Linked DNA regions of Homo sapiens: region 1 is linked to region 2. Evidence: promoter capture Hi-C in 16 types of primary human blood cells and fetal thymus (Javierre and others, 2016). All regions are on one chromosome and are shown on one strand. Each heading gives the region's core, a stretch centred on a gene start or on the middle of the fragment in contact. The rest is flanking DNA. Distances are from core to core; before and after follow the strand shown.

Region 1 (4,200 bases), core at 776-3,275, 1.0 Mb before region 2:
TATAATTGCAGCACTGGGTGAGACGCTGCTCGAGGAGGAATTAGCTGAACTGTGGTGGTTTGGCAACAGAAAGATAGAGGAAGTAACATGGAACAGGAGGTCTGTGAGAAATGTGCAGCCATGTGGCTTTCTGCCCAACCAAGGCAGCTTTCCCTACAATCCCCAGCCCTCCAAGGGCTTTTAAAGCATTGAGTGTGTGATGGGGGTAAGTCCGTATGCTGCACTTACTCCAAACATAATTATCAAGCTATAAAGGAGACACCTTAAACACACACATACGCACACAACACCTCATACCATAAGATCCCAGGGGAATTTCAAAACCACATACATATTTCAAAAAACAGTAAATTCAAAATAAAGAGAGGAATTGATTTGGGTGGTCTGATAGTTTGGTGGAAAAAATGCAGTCAATAAGATTAAGAATCAGAATAAATACAGCTCTATGCTATTAGAAAAAAGCTTCATTTTTTAAAATGTGTTTTTTCATTTTTGATTCAAGTCTTACCAAATCAAAATGTGTCACTCATCAGATGTTTGCAGTGAACACGTTTGGACAGTATACAGAATAGAGAAGATTAAATCAAAGTTTAACGTCTTGAAGTGCTGAAAGTCAATTAATTAATTAGAAAGATAATTGTTGGAATTATGTATAGGCAACTTAAATCCAAAAAAGAAAATTAATATATTAAGGAGCATGAGAAGCATCAATCCATGAATTCAAATGTATTTTACAGCTTTACGAGTCCAATCCCACATTGTTGGAATCACTATTATGTTAGCTGGCAGGATGGAAACTGGTGTCTGCTTCAACTTACTCAAAAATGGGGAACTCACTACCTCCTCAGCCAGCATATTCTGTTTTTAAATAAGATATAGCTGTTACAAACTTCTGTTTTTACAAATCTGATTCATCAGTGCTTCTTTTGCCTCTGAAGCCACGTCGAAGCCTATTTCTTTGTATCCATAAGCACCTTTCAGATTTGTGAGCATTACATCATTTCCTTTCTCAGGCTTTGTGTCTGCAGGCTGATCAACCCTCTTTCCAGAGGACTTCCACTCCTATGCAGGATGTTAAAGCCTCTGCCACCATGCTCCTTCCACATGCCCTTTGTTGCTTGATTAGGCTTGGTGGCTTTTCTTTCCACAATATTCTGCCTTTGTAGAGTTAAAATGATGCTTTGACCCCAAGTCTCAGGAGCAGTGAAGGGCCTGGGTAACCTATTGCCTGGGTTATCAGGTGAATCTTCCCAAGGTGAGCATTTGGGCAGTGGTTGCTCGAGTGCCCTGGGTGGAGAGAGAGCAGCAGGGGTCTACAGGTCAGGAGTCTGGATTCTCACAGGCCTGTGTCTTCTAACCCAGTTCCAAGTGCTGGAAGCCGGTGCTGGAAAGCAGATTGCTTTACGTACTGTGAGCAGATTGTGTAACCAGACCCATAATGTCCCTTGTCAGTAATGGGCTAAATGATGCTATGAACAATGCCAATTTCTATCCATCTCTGTAGTCCATATGCTTGTTAAATAAGGTTAAATGTGGCATCATGGAGGAAAAAAGGTACTTAGGACTTAGGAAACCTAAACCTAAATTCTTGTTCTGGCAAGCGTCAAGATCTAACATAGCCTCAGTTTCTTCCATCTGAAAACATCTCCTATGCTTCTGTGTGTCAAGTATTGTGCCAGAGCTCTATAAACTTTGTCTCTCACATTCAAAGCACTGTAATCCAGGTGTCATCACCACCACTTGACAGCCATGTCCTGGAATTTGAAACCAGGTCTGCCTGTGATCTTCTTTTCTCTTCCATCACCCCCTTGCTAAAATGAGGCAGAGGGACTAGAACTCGTATATACCCATGTATAATATGCCATTTCCAGTCCCAAGTACTTATGCTCATATTCCTAAGAAGTGTATATATTGCATACAAGAGCAAAACTCCATAAATGAAACCTGTTAAAATGTATTTGACATCAGAGTTGTTCTAGTGGTGGAGGTAGGCAAACTTTTTCTCTAAAGGACTAGATAGTAAATATCGTAGATTTTATGAACTATACAGTATCTGCTTCAACTGCTAACTCTGATGTTGTAGAGTGAAAGCAACCACAGGCAATATATAAATGAGTGAATACACCTGTGTTCCAATAAATCTTTATTTACAATAACAGGCAATGGGCTTGATTTGGCCAGCAGATCCTAGTTTGCCAACCTTTTCCTGAAGAGAGTGGAGAGTCAGAATAGTGGAGAACAACTCTTGGTGGGCCCTATTCTATCCTGTTCAACTTTCTATGCATGATTCAGTTGAAGGTAGAGATCACAACTGGGAAATCTGCAAATTCCAGGACATCAGGAATGTTCTCTAATATACGTTATGACATAATTGGGGTGCAGAAAGAGGCAAGTATGCCCTAGTGCTTAGGATTATTGTCTTTGGAGTCAGGTGGACCTTCATTCAGATTGTAGCTCTATAATTATCTATTTGGAGAAACTAATTTGTGTAAATTATTCAATCTCTCTAAACCTTATTTTTTCTCATCTGTAAATGGACATAATTTTACCTTTCTCAAGGGTTGTTGTGAGGATTAAATTAGATGATGTATATAAAGTATTTAGAACAATGCTGAACATAGTGAGCCCTCAATGAAAGGTAGTATGAAAAACCTCACTGAATTAAGAACAGAAACAAAGGAAAACACCCAGTTTGGAGGAGAAATGGCATAAACTAATTTATCAGGAAGAGGCAGAATACCCTGACTACTAATTCAGGTTGTTTCTAGACACTCACTATCAACGTATAGATTGTGACTTTGGATGAAACAGTACAGGGAGGTAATTCCTTCTCTAATAAGATGTTTATGAAAAGTTATAGGGGTGTATGAATGAACGGGAAAACTGAATGTAGTCCTTCAGATAGGCAGAAGAGTTAGAGGAAAAGTTAGAATATTTGGTAGATCACGGGTCTTTATCTGGAAAACCTCTGAGCGGGATTGGTAGCCACTTCCCATTATGGTATGGTTGGATAGAATTCCTGCTGTGGAAAATAAGAGGGATTAGTGATATTAGACTATCTCTTTTGTAGCTCAGGGACTTATCTGTTAACATATATCTCATATCAGCACCTGTTGTTTAGCCCTGTTGTAAACAACAGGACTAGCACCATAGTGGTTAGTGAAGAGTGTAGAGTGAAAGCAGCCACGGGCAATATAGAAGTGAATGAATGCACCTGTGGATATACATAAATGAATGGAATAATATATATAAATGAATGGATATATATAAATGAATGGAATAATATATATAAATGAATGGAAGACATTTTAGATGACGAACTAGGACTTACTGAACATTGACTTCTTTCCGTATAGGATAAAATGTTTTTTGTAAGTATGAGTGTCATGAATGAGAGGAGACTCAGTTCATATAACATGTGTATTAATAATAGGAATTGAAAAACTTAGAGCTTTTTTATGCCCCTCTTTCCTACTTTATCTTGTATCTTTCCACTCCTCTAAGCTGCAGCATTGAGACCCATATCTAAAACTTCTCTACATGCACCTAAACAGGACCAATGGAAACCTATGCACATGGAGGCCAACAAGAAGCTTGGGGAAGGTAAAGGGAAGGTGATTGCCATAACAGAAAGAACACAGGACTCGAAGACAGATAGCCTGGGTTAAAGCTGTAACCCTACCATGGCTATTTCTCTTACCTGAGGCAAATTAATTCACCTCTCTGAGTCTTGGATTTGCTCTGTAATATATGAATGATACTATCTGCATCATAGCGTTGTATTAAAGATTAAGGGATATAATACATGTAGCAGACAGTTTTGATTGCCTACCCAACAATCACTTATGCCCTTCCCCCATCCTAAGCAGAACCACTTTTAACTACGTATCTATTCTCCTTCGGGAGACCCATGAGATTCAGGAAAGGTGGTCTGCAGCCCCAGGAGAAGAATGATGGCAAGCTCTCCTACATGTCAGTTAGTGTCTTAGCCATGACTGTATGACCCAATTCAGGCCCAATAACTGACATGTTATAGGACTTGCCATCAACCAAATGCTGTTAAAATGTCTTTACATACATTAACTCATTTAACACACTATAAGGTAGATACTATTATTCATTTCACAAATGAGGAAGCTAACGAATAGAGAGGTTAAGGAACTGCTTCAAGGAAACACAGCTAATAAATGGTAAAGCAAG
Region 2 (3,695 bases), core at 100-2,599:
GGAAACCTAAGGAAGACCCACCTCTTCTTTCTCTCTCACTGCCTTCCACTCCCAGCTGACCTCTGATTTCATCAGCTATGACTATTTTGCTGCATTTCCCTTCAGTGCCTTTACTTTTTTCTTTGTATTATGTTGCGCAGGTTATTTAGAACCTTTCTTGTCAGCCTTTCCCCACCTGCCACCAACCTTCTCTTTCCAAGATAGCACTACACCGTCAGCCTCTACAGAAGACCTTGGGTCTGAAAATTAAAACTTCGGGGGAATCTCAAGCAGCTTCTCCAAAGAGTCTTGCAAGGGGCCTCCCTGCACTAACTGGATCTTATAAATTAAAAGAATCAACCTCAAGCATAAGCAGAAGACACTTAGATAGGACATTTCCAGTAGGAATGTAACTTTTACTATGAAAAAATCATATTAAAGGTTAAAAAGTTATATCTAATACTTGAGGATTATTTATTTAAGCGTGCACACTTGAGAAGTTACCAGGCTTCAAACTTTTTCAGTCATCCCATTTTCTTGTCTGAACTCTACCAATCCTCAATTTACCCCAAATCTCGGAATGCCTAGGAGAGGTCTAAGAGCTCAAGTTCAAGTTTGGCCTTCACTCCCTCAACTCGAACCACCAGCATAGGAATTTAGGATGAAGCCACACCTAGAGTGGCAGAAGTGTCACCCAGGGAGTTAGAGGCAAAACTAGAGCTTATGCCTGGGCGTCGCTTTCCTCAAACCAGGATTCTCTTCATTTCCTTATGACAGAGCACATGATCAGAAGACTTGATCAACTGAAGACTGATAACCATGGAATCACACAACAGAATGAGCCCATAAGGGAGCTGCAGGGGGACTGGGGCCTCTGGACGGCCGCTGTGAGGTGGGGGTGCACTCACTGCTCAGATTCAGCAAGGAGTCAAAGACTTTGCACTGGATCTGCCCGGTGCTCTGCGACACGCAGGACATCCACAGCCCCTCGTACATGGCCTGGGCGGTCACGATGTTGTCGCCGGCATAGGAGTAAATCCTCCACTGGGGCAGGGCAGTGCTGACGATGGCGCCGATCCATCCCAGGAAGGCGAGAATGAAGCCCAACAGCTGCAGCCCCGCGTTGGCCATGACTCGCTCGGGCGCCCGCGCTGGCTCAGGGGTGGCAGGTGCAGAAGGCGGAGAGTTTGCAGGTGGGCAACCCGGACTCCCGAAGGTGGCTGGGCCCCGCGGAGGAAGTTAAGGCGGGGAGCCCTGCTCGCTGCGCCGCCGCTGGAGAAGCTCTGGGTCGGGGTTGGGGTCCGCGCCCGGGGCGGCGCTGGAGTCTGGATACTAGAAGCTGCGGTTGCTCCCAGGCTCGGGAACTGAGACGCAGAACCGCTGGGCGCCGCGATTTAAAGCAGCTCCGCCCGCCTCAGCCCCGGCAGCCGGGGAGCGCCCCCTGGCGGTTTCAGGGCGGCTCACCGAGAGGGCGCCGGGAGCGCCCGGTTGGGGAACGCGCGGCTGGCGGCGTGGGGACCACCCGGCAGGACCAGGCACCAGAGCTGCGTCCCTGCTCGCTTTCTCTCGTGGATCTTCTCGCTCCTGTAAGGCGTTTCACGCTTTTCATTCATTCACTCCAATTATCCAAAAATTACTATGCACTGTACTTGTAAATCCTAACACAAAGATGAAAAAATGATCCTTCAAGAGCTGCAGTTTTAGGTTTAATACTTTTTTCCCAATATCTTATTAAAAGGCATTTCTACCCAACTCCGCGTCTCCTCCCCCATCACACCATTTCTCTCTCCTTTGCTTGGCTTCCTCCCCCTTCTTTCCTCTCTCTGCTCTCTTCTGTCAAGGTCGTTCCATCACTTGTCTCTGCAAGGAGCCTCAGAGACTTTTACACTCTACAGATTGGGAAACAGACCCAGAGAGCAACATGATTTACACACACACACACACACACACACAGACACACTCACGCACGGAGCATATCCAGTACTTGGCTCCCCTCCCAATCTGCTTTCCACTACATATCAAGTTGACCCAAAATATCCCCTTTGATCTATGATTGTCCTTTTTGATGTATTATTGTCCTTATGAAACTGCAGGCTAGCAGCCCTTCCCCGCCAAACACCAACCTCCTCCCCACAGCAGTTATGTCTTAGAGCAGCAATTCATTATCAGAGGGACCTGGCCAGTGCCCCGCTCTCCCTGAAAGGTGTTAATTTTGTGAGTTATCAAATGTTGTTCGTCGCAGGTGAGGACATGTAAACAGCGTTTCCCCAGTGGCAAAAGGACTGGGCTGGAGTTGAGGAAGTCTGGGCTCTGGTTCCAGCTTTTACTGTGACTGGCTATCTCACCCCTCCGGTTTCGGTCTCGCTGGGACTGTAGTTTCCCTCTATGTTTCTCCAAAGCTTCCTTCTTTGTAGTTAGTCAGAAGTGCTGTTGTGGTTAGGAATCATTGAAATGTTTTTCCAACTGCTTTTTGTGTGTGGTGCGAGTGTGGTGGGAGGGGAAGCTTCTATGGTTTTAGTAAAAACAGAAGCATCTTGGAAGCAGAAATAAACATATTAAGGATAAAATAAGATATACCCTTATATACCATGGCAACTGCTAGTTGGTGACAGAGAAGGAAAGGTGCAAATTCTCAAGGTGGGAATGGGAAGAAAGGCCAAGCCCCACCACCTTCATTTCCACCTGGCTCTCCCTGGATGCCTTTCATGTAGGCTTAAAACTAAAGGACTTGGCCGTGCTAGGATTTAGGGACAAGCAATGAAGAATGTAAGACAGGAGCTAGATGAAGACAATTAATTTGGACTGAGATTAACACAGTGAATACTGTCTTTCTCCTATCAGCTGTTTAGGACAAGACCATGTTCGTGTTGTATCCCAGGGTTAGGGCCTGCAGTCAGTACTACTGTCTAGGTCTCAGTGGATGTTCTGTGGGTGCCTGTCAGTGTGGATGAAGATGTATCAATCACATTTGATTTTGTAAAAATTCCCTGATCAGAGAAGGCACTGGAATTTGCTGCAGGACTAGAGCAGTACCATGTGAATCATATAATCTCATTTTCTTCTTTTTTTTGTTCCAAACATTTAAGAATTAAAAGTATTATTAAACACCCGGGCACGGTGGCTCAGGCCAGGCGCAGTGGCTCACGCCTGTAATCCCAACACTTTGGGAGGCTGAGGCAGGCGGATCACTTGAGATCAGGAGTTCGAGATCAGCCTGGCCAACATGGTGAAACCCCGTCTCTACTAACAATATGAAAATTAGCCGGGCATGGTGGTGGGCGCCTGTAATTCCAGCTACTTGGGAGGCTGAGGTAGGAGAATTGCTTGAACCCGGGAGGCGGAGGTGGCAGTGAGCCCAGATCGTGCCACTGCACTCCAGCCTGGGCAACAGACCAAGACCCCATCTCAACAAATAAATAAATAAATAAATAAACAAATAAATGACATTTTCTGCGTTCAGTAAATATATTTGTGCACAGGCCCTTTTACTCTGCATTACAACTGGTTTCTATCAACCTACAATTAGCGGGGAATCGGAGGGATGAGTTCTGTGGTCAGCAGGGTCCCGTGTTTTTGTTTTGTATTTCAGGTCTGTGCGAGGCTGATTACTTCACTACCCACAACCATGTTTGTGAGGCTGAGGTGAATGCTGTTTGCTTCACTGTGATTCAGGCCCATCTCTAGGCATCCTTAATCCTGTCTAGTTTTCTGCTCCT

What was found. The method cuts DNA at HindIII sites, captures the fragments that hold promoters and counts their contacts. A CHiCAGO score of 5 or more calls a contact.
Region 1: a contact is called between a fragment that was not itself captured here and the fragment with the promoter of CLDN1 in region 2, in 1 of 17 cell types (fetal thymus). The highest score is 5.0, in fetal thymus.

Annotation. Positions count from the first base shown.
Region 1 is chr3:189,277,029-189,281,228 of GRCh38, forward strand. All of the region lies in intron 4 of TPRG1 (tumor protein p63 regulated 1), which reads left to right. Among named protein-coding and RNA genes, the nearest start is that of TPRG1-AS2, 39 kb to the left of the region's middle. The HindIII fragment of the contact is 3,131 bases long and covers 461-3,591 here.
Region 2 is chr3:190,321,097-190,324,791 of GRCh38, forward strand. It overlaps CLDN1 (claudin 1), which reads right to left and starts at 1,350. Exons shown (of 4, transcript NM_021101.5): 1 at 888-1,350. The coding sequence starts at 1,110. It also overlaps a transcript of CLDN16 not described here. RefSeq lists a silencer at 1,341-1,500. The HindIII fragment of the contact is 3,794 bases long and covers 1-2,376 here.